Regions from separate parts of the Homo sapiens genome. Here region 2 is linked to region 1. Evidence: promoter capture Hi-C in 16 types of primary human blood cells and fetal thymus (Javierre and others, 2016). All regions are on one chromosome and are shown on one strand. The core of a region is centred on a gene start or on the middle of the fragment in contact, and the rest is flanking DNA. Distances in the headings are between cores, read along the strand shown. Region 1 holds the start of FBXO38 (F-box protein 38). Region 2 has its middle 21 kb from the start of SCGB3A2.

Region 1 (6,467 bases), core at 2,668-5,167:
GTGGTTTCCAGAGCTAGGGTAGGAGAAAATGGAGAGCTCTTGTTCAATGGACATAGAGTATCAGTCTCGCAATGAAAAAGTTCTAGAGATCTGCTGAACAACGTGAATATGGTTGATACTACTGAACTGTACACTTAAAAATGGGCTCAAAAATTTTTTTAGCTCCCACATATGAGTGAAAACATACAGTGTTTATCTTTCTGTGCCTGAGTTATTTCACTTAACATAATGTCCTCCAGGTTCATCCATATTGCCTCCAATGACAGGATTTCATCCTTTTGTATACATATTTTGTGTATATGTTCCACATTTTCTTTATTCATTCATCTGTTAATGGTAGGGTGAATACAGTTAATGATAGTTTATTGTATATTTTCAAGAAGCTAAAAGAGAGGATTTTGAATGTTTGCAACACAAAGATGATAAATGTTTGCGGTGAATGGATATGCTAATTAGCCTGCTTTGATCATTATAGATTGTATACATGTATTGAAATATCACTCTGTATCCCATGAATATGTACAATTATTATGCATTAACTAAAAACTAAAAATGAATGGAAATACATAACTAAAATGGTAAATTTTATGTTATGTGTTTTTAATCACAATGAAAAATAAACAACAAATAAATAACATAAAGAATGAATTGATAAACAAAATGTGAAATATATATGCAGTGGAACATTATTCAGATTTAAAAAGGAATTAAATTCTAAATACATGCTACAACATGGATGAACCCTGAAGATATTATGCTAAGTGAAAAAATTCAGACATAAAATGACAAATATTGTTATGATTCCACTTATATGAGTACCTAGAGTGGTCAAAATCATAGAGTCAAAAAGTAGAATGGTGGCTGCCAGGGACTGGGGGAAGGAGAGCATAGGGAATTGTTGTTTAAAGAGTTTCAGTTTGGGAAGATAGAAAAGTTATGATGATTGGCGGCGGTGGTGTTTGCACAATAATGTGAATGTGCATAATTCCACTGAACTGTATACTTAAAGAGGTTAAAATGACAAATATATATATTTTGCCACAATTTTTCTTAAAAAATAATGTATGACATTATTCATGCACAAATGCAAGACTGGGCTGGAGGGACTACAAGCCTTACTTTTTGATGCTTGTGCTAATATTCATACATCCAAAAATCTAAAAATTAAAAACAATGAGGTAGTGTGGTAAATTACAGATGGCCACAAAGTCTTTGCTACATCTTCAATTAAGAGGTGGACTCTTATTCTTCTCTTGAATCTGGGCTGGCTTAGTGGCTTTTTTGACCTAACACGACGTGATGGAAGTCACTCCTGGGACTGCAGAGGCTACATTATATGAAGTTTTGTAGCTTCCTCCTGTTTTGCTTGGAACAGCTCCCTTTTTTCCCATTCTACCTCCAAGTGCTCCCTGTCAAAACCCAAACACCACGGTATAAGAAACCCAAATCAGAGGGAAAGCCCAAGTGTAGGCACTCTGATAAATAGCTCCAACTGAGCATCTAGAGATCAGCCAGCCTCAACTGCCATCAATATAACATCTATTAGAGGCTGACATTAACTACAGCCCCAGTTTGATATCTGACTGTAAATGCCAGAGACTGCAAGCTAGGACTGCCCAGCCTAACCCAGTTACCCTACAGAATCAGGGCAGATAAAATTTTTAGCCACTAAATTCTGGAGTGACTTGTTACGTAGGTACCATAATGTCTATTTTAAAGAAACCTGAACCTTAGAGCTGAAGTGATTGCCCATTGTCTCTCTGCCAGTAAGCAGAGGAACTCACAGTTAACCAAGTCTTTCTGGTTCTAAAGCCTGCATTGCTGACTACTAAATACACAACTTCTCAGTCAAAACAGCTACAATAGTTTTTTTTTTTCCTTTTTACCTTCAAAAAAAATCCTGTATTTGAATTCATAGTGGAGTTCTGCCATATACGCCAAGTCTAAGGGTAGTTAAGAATAGCCTTGATATGCATAGCACCTTCTGCAGTTGTGCACTGAACAGGCTCCATAGCCATATGAACCTGTCCTGAGCAAACTCCAACCACTATCCCTGACCAAAACTTCTCTTGAGTATTAGTCATCATTTTAACAAAGGGATTATCTGTTGTTTAGGTACCTAAGGAATTTCAAGGAAGAACACGGGCTGATACTAGAACTCATGGAAGAATGAAAAGAGATACTTTAGAATTTAATTAAAAAGTGGGGATTGAAAATTAAAACAACACAGCGGTTTAAGGTCATTTACTGTAGGGCAAACTTTCCTGCAGCGCTCAGGGACCCCATGATGGTGCCACTGTACAGGAGAAATACTAACTCAGGACCTTTTTAATGAAAACCTGTAACATCAAGGTACAAATAAATCCTAGAGATGAAGGGATACATATAACATGCTCTACCTGAAAATGTTAAAACTAGTTTTGATATCTTATTATATATAACACTCATAGCAGTGAGAAAATATCTTTAACATTTATTACAATGATTTGTGGTAGGAAATTTTCTAAACTTGAGGTAGGAAACCTTTCTTACTCATGAGTATTCATTTCAGGTCCCACTACAGTGCTTTTTACAAAAGGAGGAATGCTAATAAAATGAAAATCATATTCCATTGAATTAAAAATTCAGGCCAATTGTGCTGAAATAAATCTTACTGAATGCCTTCTAAATATGCCATGCCCTGCACTAGAAACTTTCGTAATTCCTATTTATTCTTCAGAATAACCTGGGAAACAGAAAAAGCTAAAGTCTGTTTCCTTTATTAAAGTTTGAATATGAAGAAACCGACAGAAGCAAATAGCATAAAAATTCATTTTTGTCTTCAATTACAGGAAGAATGTAACATGAAAGCTGAGATTACAATGAATAGTACATGAATATGATGAGGTTTTGTTTTGTTTGTCCTACCAGAGCTCCAAATAAAAACACAGATATATGGTTTGACATACGGAATGGGATAGCTAAAACTGTGACTGCCTAAGACAAGCTGAAACCTAAGGTGCCGAACCATATTGGGGAAAGAGGGGAAAAACCAGTAGGTCTGCTATCAATCAAGAAAAGAATAAGAAGAAATGGGATTCCCAAGCCTTCTTCAGCTTTTTCTTCTCCAGCAGAATAGCCTAGTCAATGCTACGTCTTGTCAAATTGTGTCTCACATGGCTTTAATGCACACTAACTTTCCTAAGAAGTATTTGTATCTATTTAAATCTAGGGATTTTAGCCCATATTAATTACATGTATATTAGGGCAAGAACACAGGATGTAAAAGGTAAAAATCTGAATTTCAGTCCATCTGCGAGACATTGTGAAAATCAATTACACTCTCTGAAGACAATTCCTTATCCATTAAACAACAGAAAAGGTGATTAAGTTGATCCTTGCCTACATGTCAGAGTCGTGTAGAGTTTTTAATGACACTCATGTGAAATTCCTTTGGACTGTAAAATACTATTACTTACGTGCAAAGATAATGTCCCGAAATCACAGAAGGGATGACTTAACATTAACATCTTTAACTGCGCCCCCGTCCTTCCTCTCAAAAAAAAAAAGTTCTCTATTTTTAGTTGAATGATTCTGGGAAAATCTCTATTGGAACCTATCGACTTCGCAAATGACAAAGGCGAGGTCCAGAGACTTATCCAAGACCCCAGAGTACCAGTGGAAATCAAGACCAAACCACACGGTGGAGACTGGTTCCGACGTATCAGACTCAGTGCTTCCGGCATGGCGCTTTAGTGTCAGGTGAAAGAACAGCAACCCGCCCCGCTTCTCCACCCCTGACAAGCCTTCCGAAATGCCACGCTGAACATGGCTGCCGCGCTTCGATGCTTCTTCACACACACAATATGGACACGGGTTTGAGGCTCCAGCCCCGGATGACAACACTCCGGAAATATGCGAGCGGCGGCGGAAGCGGAAGTGCCTCAGCGGTAGGGGCCGGGGAAGTGTCTGTAGCGTCCCTCCCTCTCAACCACAATAACAGGCGGAGGGTCGGCGTAGGTGAGGCGGCGGCTGAGTGGGCCTGGGGACCGGGAGCGGGGTGGCAAAGCCCGGAGTGCGTGCGGCAGGGCTGAGGTAGCTGGGTGGGGATTCTGGAACTTCCGACCGCTTAAGCTCGGCCTCTGGCCCCCTTGGGGCCTAGAGCTCCTTGAGAGATCAGGGGTTGAATTTGTAGTTCCTGGCCTTCTAGGCCGTGCTTGCGGGGGTTGCCTGCTTGTCTGAACCTGGCCCCAAAATCCAGCATAAAGAACTCTCTCTGGGCCCCAGTTTCCTCAATGAAATGGGTGAGGGTGTTGGACTGGACAGCTTCTGTGACTGTCTCCCACCCCGGGCGTCACGAATTTCATGATTTTAATGTTAAGTCGGTGTTTCGGCCAGTAAAGTGAAGGAGGTCTGTGTTCAGCGTAGTGAGGAGATGTCCCTGAGCAGGAAGCAGTGAACACATCTTTGGCTGCCACGCCTGAGTATCAGGAGCCCTGAATTCTAGTTTCACCCCTTCCACCTACACACCGTGTGACCTTGTCTAGGTCCATTAGCTTTTCTGTGCTGCAGTTTGCTTATCTGTGTTGGATGCCTTTGATGTCCGTGCCCTAGCTGTGGAAATCAGATTCTTAACTCCCTTTTCATGGAGTCTTTACAGACCTGAAAAGCATATTCTCCCTGCACTCTGCACACCCAGAATTTGACTAAGAGATGTCTACCGTGTTTCTTTGCAGACACCAAGCTGGCCAAGGGCAACTGGTCACTTAGGAAGGTTCCTGTGCAATGAGAAGCTCTGTCCAGAAAACTTTGTTTTATACACCTAAACCAGCAGTGTAAATCACTACAAAGTGAAAAACAGGAGACCTTGATTTTTGTTCCAAAGTTGCTATTAACTTGATGGTTTACTTTGGCCAAATCCCTTCCTCTCTCTGAACTTGAGATTTTTTTATCTGCTAAAGGAAGACGTTGGATTAGGTCACTGGTTTTTAATCCCCTTTCCCATTCCCCCAGCACAAGTGAAGGATAAAATAATAGTTCTATAAAGCCATGATTTTCCCAGGGAAGGAGGAGGTCCAGTCTGGAGGGTATGTATTACATAGGCATAGACTGAAAAAAATCCGCTTGTAATTTTTAACTTTCATTTTGAGAATTAACATTTTAGATTATCTGTAAGCCTTCTTTCCCCTCTTTAAAATATGTGATGCTGTAATTCTGATGTCCTCCTTGGGTAAAGAATGTAGAGTTTTGTGTGCCTCTTTGTTTAAATGGCTGTGTGCCCAGAGGTACACACTTTATATTTAGTCAAACAGATACTAATGCATAGCAGAGGAGAAAAAGGGACAACTAGATTCCAGTAAGATAGGGTGATATAGTGAAGTAAAATTGGTGGTATACTAAAATGAAATAAGGTGGTATAGTGAAATAAAATTAAAAAGGAGTTGAAGACCTGTATCCCTGCTTCACACTGGTACATCCTGCCTCTGTGACTTTGGACAAGCCATCTAACATCTCTAGGCCTCACTTTCCTTATCTGTAAAACGAAGGGTTGAGCTGGATGATTCCTAGGCCTTTTTCAGCACCATCATCCTGTTGGGGGGTTTTTGTTTTGTTTTGTTTGTGTGTGGTTTTTATCTGAGCAGTTTGGTTTATGTGGTGTGGTATTTCTTTAGACAAGAGAGGCTGTCCTGGTCAGTAGATACACAAGATAGTCTATGATGTCAATTAAGGTCTGTGAGGTCAAATTAAGTGATATGCAAGATTACTTTGATATGAGCAAGCTGAAACCAATAGAAACTAAAGAAAGGCATGAGAAACTTGAAGGGCAGGGAAGCCCTTGACCAGATAGGATCATTGAGAATATAGGGAAGTTTCAAGTGAGAGGGGGTATTTTTCACGAGGGTAAAGAAAAGTAATTTGAGTTTGGGATGGGAAGGAGATTTGAATTGACGAGATAGGAGAACACTTTTTGGAAACAACTCTGGTTTAAGAATGTGCTTGCAACACCAAGACAAAAGTAATGCTTCCTGTGGCTAAGGTCAGCTAAGCAGGCAGCCACAGAGTGACTGTAATATACCAAAGGTGGCCATAGACCACTGCATGGGAGCCTAAATTAAATGGACCATAAATCCTAATTGGTGAAGGTAGGGTGTGGTCAGATGCAGTTCTATCAGAGCATCTAGAAGCCTTTCTCCAAGCACTAGGGCATTGCTCTGGAATGCAGGAAGACAACCACAGTGACAGAGGACTGACTTGATGATAGAATGTTTACTGTAACCTGGGAAGTCTGTATCCCAGCCTGAACCTTGACACTATTTAATCTTGGGCAAGTGATTTGTCACCTTATCCTCTCTGGTTCTGTTTGTTCATCTTAAAAATTTGGGATCACTAGATGAGCTTCGATGTCTGTGAATATGAACCCCCTGAAATCGTGTATGTATTTCTGCTTGCATGAGTCTGGAAAACGGATGTGCCACTTTCATCGTATT
Region 2 (5,884 bases), core at 1,683-4,182, 530 kb before region 1:
TTGAATCTATGGGGCCAAGGGACTCTGAAGGCATCTGTGTCAGTTATCAGACTGGTGAAGTCTCTGTGCTAGGACCTAAGTAATACAGTCGAAAGGAGGAACCTGGGGGCTCGTGTTGAGGTTTGTCTAAACGCCTAGAATTCTTTTAGGGAGGGAGCTTGGGATACAAACAATTTTTATTCATCAGGGCCTTGAAGTTCAGTGATCACTGGTCCGGATAATTAAGACTTTAGGAAATGTGACCTCATCTTTGATGAAATTTATGTCTAAGATTTTGAAACAAATATAAAGACAATTTAAAAGTGCATGAGCATAGTAAAGCTTGACGTTAATTACAACAGCAACAGCTAATATTTATGGAGTGCTTATTATAGAGCAGGTTTAACCCCTTCACTATTCTGTACTTTGGAATCAGAAGGGTGTGATGATAGGATTTTGTAAAAACCACGTCAGAGGATCCCCTGTGGAAACGGAAAGGGTGGTTGCTTAATCACAGACGGCAATGAGATGATTGAACTTTGTAGGCTTAGTGTTGAGTCTAAACTGTGAGACCAGTCTGTAAAATGAGCTTAATCTAATTGAGCTTTAGCTATAAAATCCGTATATATTCCTCTGAAGCTTAAATAAACCCAGTAAATAAAGGTAATTGGACAACCAGAAAGCATAATACAAATGTGTGATTTACGATTTGGTTTAAAATAGTTGGACATTATTAGGATGCAATATTATTAAATAGTATTTGGAAAGGCCGTCCGCATGGGACACTGTGGTAGATGAGAAAACTGATGCTCAGAGAGCTCCTGTCTGTTTATGGCTTGGTTGTGATGGTGAGGGATCTCCCCCATGTGCAGAAAGTCAGAAGTGGATGCTTCCTCAATGATGAGAGGGGCAACTTTGTGGGAGGAACAAAGAGTGAGTGAAGTTTTAAAATTGCAAGACAGGGGAAAGGATAGTGTTGGAGGTAAATGTTGAATACAAATATATGAACGTAAATCTGAATTTAAGTATTAAATGAAATATATTTACATAAACCTGGCACATTCCTGTTAACAATAGCTCAGAACAATCTCTAGTGTACAGTAGCCTTTTTGATCCCCAGTTTGCTTTTCTCGGTTTCAGTTACCCATGGTCAACTGGAGTTCAAAAATATTACACGAAAAATTTCAGAAATATACAACTCATAAGTTTTAAATTTCACACTGCTCTGAGTAGCACGATGAAATCTCATGCCCAGGGACATGACTTGTCCCTTTGTCTGGAGTACCCGTGCTGTGGATGCTGCTTGCCTGTTACTCACTTGGCAGCCAACTCGGTTATCACACTGACTGTCTCAGTATCACAGTGATTATGTTCAAGTCACCCATATTTTATTTTGTAATGGCCCCAGAGTACAAGAGCAGTGATGCTGGCAATTTGGAAATGCCAAAGAGAAGCCACGAAGTGCTTCCTTTAAGTGAAAATATAAAAGTTCTTGACTTAATAAGGAAAGAAAAAAATAATATGCTGAAGTGGTTAAGATCTATAGTAAGAACAAATACTTTATCTGTGAAACTATGAAGAAGAAAAAATTGTGCTAGTTTTTCTGTCACACTTCAAGCTGCAAAAGTTACAGCCACAGTGCATGATAACTTTTATTTCAGTACGTTGTTATAGTTGCTCTATTTTATTATTAGCTGTTGTTGTTAATCTTTTACTGTGCCTAATTTATAAATTAAACATTATCATGGATAAGAATGTGTAGGAGAAACAGTATATATAAAGTTCAGAACTATTCGAGGTTTCAGGCATCCACTGGGGGTCTTGGAATGTATCCCTTTTGGATATGCAGGGACTCTGGTACAAAGCCTCTTCCATTATATCATCATAATGGCCATGATTACACACCCAAGGGGTCATATATCTTTGAATTGAACTTTCATCCAGAACTCTTAAAAAACAAAATATGTTGGTAAATACTTAGATGCCTAAGTATTTATTATCTCTTATCTCTTCTGACTCTTCTACCTTCCAGCAGAAGACCATGGAAGAAAGATAAACTTTTAAAGCACAGCCTTATAGGAAAGTTGTGTTAATAGATGGTAGCAGGTTTTGTAATTATTCCAATAGGTAAAATGAAAATAAACTTGGGGTCAAATAAATACTCTTAGGCCAAGCCAGTACTAGGCTTGTCTGATGCATATTCACACACCAATACAATTTTATTCTTTTAAGCTACTTTTTGTTAGTCTGATATTTTAATATTGTTTATGATGTGTTAGAACTTGATTCTGGCAGCCATTCTCTGAACTAAAAAAGCTTAATGTGATCTGGGGCCATTAATAAACTCTGATGTCTTCTTCAAAGAAGCTGATAGACCTGCTCTGCTCTGTGCTAGGCAAGACCTAAATAGTATTACATTTAGCTATGGCACCACTTTGGAGATTCTTGGAAACACTTCTGGTTGTGTTGAGGAGGTGACAATGGTTGACCTTAGGCATCCAAATGTGACCTGTACATCTTATTATTAGTGCTGCTTTCTAAGTTTCTGTCCAGGACATAAACTTAGTTCTGTCCTTTCTAAATGCTTTCCACAATTTTTGATGACAATATGTTGGAATTTCTGGAGTTGGCACTCATGGACTAAGGAATGCAAGGAGGGCTGAGTAGCAGCCTGTGTCGACCTAAATGTCTGTTGATTTATCAAAATCCTAGTGTGACAGAAGGATCCTGATGATCCCCCCTATACTGCTGAATATTTAGGGGATGCTATGAAATCTCCTAAGATTAGAGGCCTCCAGGTCTTCAAGGTACATCAGCCAATTTGAGTACTTTGTCTTTACTCTTAAATTCTCCATATTCCCAAATCCAATATAAAAGTTTCTAAGCCTCTGAGTTTCTCCATACCCCCAAATTCAATATAAAAGGTCCTAAGCCTTCTGCAGCATTTGAGGTAGTATTTCTTTTAGCTGGCTTATCATCTGAGAAGTAAAACAAAAACTAAAAACAATATTTCTTCCTCCTCTTTAAACATATATTTTTTTTCCTTTTTCAATTCATTATTTTCTTCTAGCACAGGATGTGGCACAAAGATGGCCATCACTAACATTGCCTGTTAGGTTGCTTTTGTTTTGTAAACTGTAGCACAATCCCGGAAATGGCCACAAGAGGGCATTTGTGCACCACTTTGAAAGTTACTCTTGTTCAACATCGCATTCCACAAACATTCATAGTTTCCCATGGTTTGAACTTTAATAATTCCACCCTGAAAGAAAGAAAATGAAGCTGAAGTCATATCAGACATAATCTAATCCATATTGTCATTCCAAAGATTCCAGATCTCAGGACCTGTGATAGTGTAACTCTTTAAAATATTGAAGCATTGTGAATGATTTTAAACATTTCAAAAAAAGAAATGTTTTAAATATTTTAATTAGTGTTGAGGCTTAAGTAGCTGTACTTTTGACTTAGATTATTATAGATTTGACAGTCAAAACCTTAAAATATTGAGACCCATGGGGGAAAATAATGTGTGCATCAACATTTATTGAATTTGATACTTTTTGTGATAGAGTCCCAGAAATGATATGTGAGAAGCTTAATAAGGTTTAAAGTGCTTTGTTTATTGCAGTTTTAAGTGTCTTCTTCTTGAATTAAATCTTAGGTTAAGGAGGCTGTTGGAGTCATATGATGATATTATGGTGCAAAATTAATTACCTTTGCACCAACCTCATAGACTTGGAAAGTGTAATGAAGATAATCTCATCTATTCTTATCTATTACAAGAGCCTTTTCCACAGTAAATTTGGTATTAGCTAACCTTTATTTGTAGGATTCAGTATGGAGCCATTAAACTTTATTTTCTTGTAATTTGTAGTCACATTTCAAAAACCTCTCAAATTCAATCCTAAATTCATATCTATTTTTGCTTCATGATGATAGCCCTCCAAATATCTGAACAATCTCTTAAGGGTTTCTTGGTTTATCTTCTCTCCAGGCTGGTGTCACCAAGTTTATTAACTGTCTCTCATATGATCCTTCAAAAGCCTGGATAATCTTCTTATTATGGGTTTGTTGTGAATTAAATATGACCACACATTCTTTGCAATTCCTCCTACCAAGAAGTAGAGTTTATTTTCTCTCCTCTTGGCACTGGGCACGTCCTATGGCTTCATTTGAATAATAGAATGTGGCTGAAGAGATGCCATGTGTCTTTTGAGGCTAAACATTAGGACATCTAGGGTTTTAATTTTCATATCTTGGAATGCATTTTCCTGGAACTCATGAATTACCAGATGCTTTGCAAACTGCCTCCACTGAGCTCATAGCCAAAGCCAATCACAAAATGCCAGTATTCTGGCTCTCCAGCCATCCCAGTGCCCCAGTAAACATCAATCAATGAAACAGGTGAAGCAGCTATATGGTATTTTTAAAGAATCATGAAAAAAGTACACTGTGCTTGTTTTGAACCACTGAATTTTGGAGTATTTTGTTATATGGCATTAGACAACTGAGAGGTCCAGGTTGCAAATGATCTCACTGGGTTGAGTTCAGATCTAAATAGAATGTGTTGACTGTGACTAATAACCTGTAAAATAGATTTTTTTCTTATTTGATTTTGATGGCACATTTTCATAGTAACATATTTTTTCAGCCATATTTTCATAACCTGTGATATTTGAAATGATTTGAGACCAGAGCTGTTGTTGCTTATCTTGACTTAAAAAGAAAGACCACTGAAATAGAGCCTGTGACTTTTTCCCCAGTTCCTCAGTTTTTTCTGACAGCCAAAAAATAAATCCTGAATTTTTCTAGACTTGATGGAATGACAAACATGATTTCATTAATACAATACTTAACTGTAAACCAAGGGTTTGCACATACATCATCTCACTTAATCCACACAAACGTATATGGCAGCATTAATAACCCTTTAACACACACTGAAGTATTTGTGAGTGATAGGACATTGGCTAGCAATTTACTCTCCAATGGTTCTGAAAAAAAGAGTTCTATGTACTGTATTCAAATCTTTTCTGTAAGTTTGAAATTGTCTCAAATTTAAAATCTTATACCAAAAAAAATCTTATAATTTGTTCACTGGATGCAGTGATTATCCATTCTCCTACTTCTATTCTGTGTACAAGCTAAAGAAAGGTAAAATTCTTCAAAGAGAAATTACAAATAAAACTCCCCAAACATCACTCAAAATTAAAGTGTTGAGAAGTAGTTCATGAGCTTGGTGATTGTGGCTGCTCTGACTGAGGTTATAATTATGAAGCTGGATAGCTAAAAGTAAAGATAGAGAGGGGATAATAATAATAATAGTGTAACGTATCTTGAGTGTTCATTCCCAGGTACTAATTTTTGTAAGCATTTTGCATATGTTAACTTATTACTTATAACACCCTTAGAAGGAAGGAAGTTTGTTAGCCCAACTATAAAATAGTTGGTAAAACTGAGGCCCAGCAAGGTAAATAACTTCCCCATTGGAAAAGCTGTGCCATGAATACAGACAGGCTGGCTTCAGGACCTGTGCTCTTTGTCACTAAACAAAGAACAAGGGCACTGAAAGCACAAAAGAGCAGCCTCAACCCTAGAAAGATGTGGAGAAGCTGGAGACAGTGTTTAGCAAACATCAAGCTTGTCAGGAGCCCACACACCTCAGTAAAAAGGCCTCCTCCACCCTGTACTACCAAAAGAATCATAGCGCATGTTGTTAAATCAAACTAAATATGGCCTGAGAAAGCCTCCATACTTCCATATTTGAATCCTTGTGGATGAACTATAACCACCTTAGTAGGTAGACAAGACTGAAGTATGCTTCTGTAACAATAGGTGAGTCTCAGCCAATCCCAGAAGCTATACTTAACCACTCATATGCCGCTGACTGTTCAAACTATGCTCA

What was found. Contacts are between HindIII fragments. The CHiCAGO score rates a contact against its expected background, and 5 or more counts as called.
Region 2: a fragment that was not itself captured here is called in contact with the fragment with the promoter of FBXO38 in region 1 in 1 of 17 cell types (megakaryocytes); the score reaches 6.5 in megakaryocytes.

What each region holds. Positions count from the first base shown.
Region 1 is chr5:148,380,041-148,386,507 of GRCh38, forward strand. FBXO38 (F-box protein 38) reads left to right here and starts at 3,918. Exons shown (of 22, transcript NM_205836.3): 1 at 3,918-3,999. It overlaps FBXO38-DT (FBXO38 divergent transcript), which reads right to left and starts at 3,810. Exons shown (of 5, transcript NR_105057.1): 1 at 3,459-3,810. RefSeq lists an enhancer at 3,695-3,894. The HindIII fragment of the contact is 17,680 bases long and covers 1-6,467 here.
Region 2 is chr5:147,854,593-147,860,476 of GRCh38, forward strand. No RefSeq gene overlaps it. Among named protein-coding and RNA genes, the nearest start is that of SCGB3A2, 21 kb to the right of the region's middle. The HindIII fragment of the contact is 1,278 bases long and covers 2,294-3,571 here.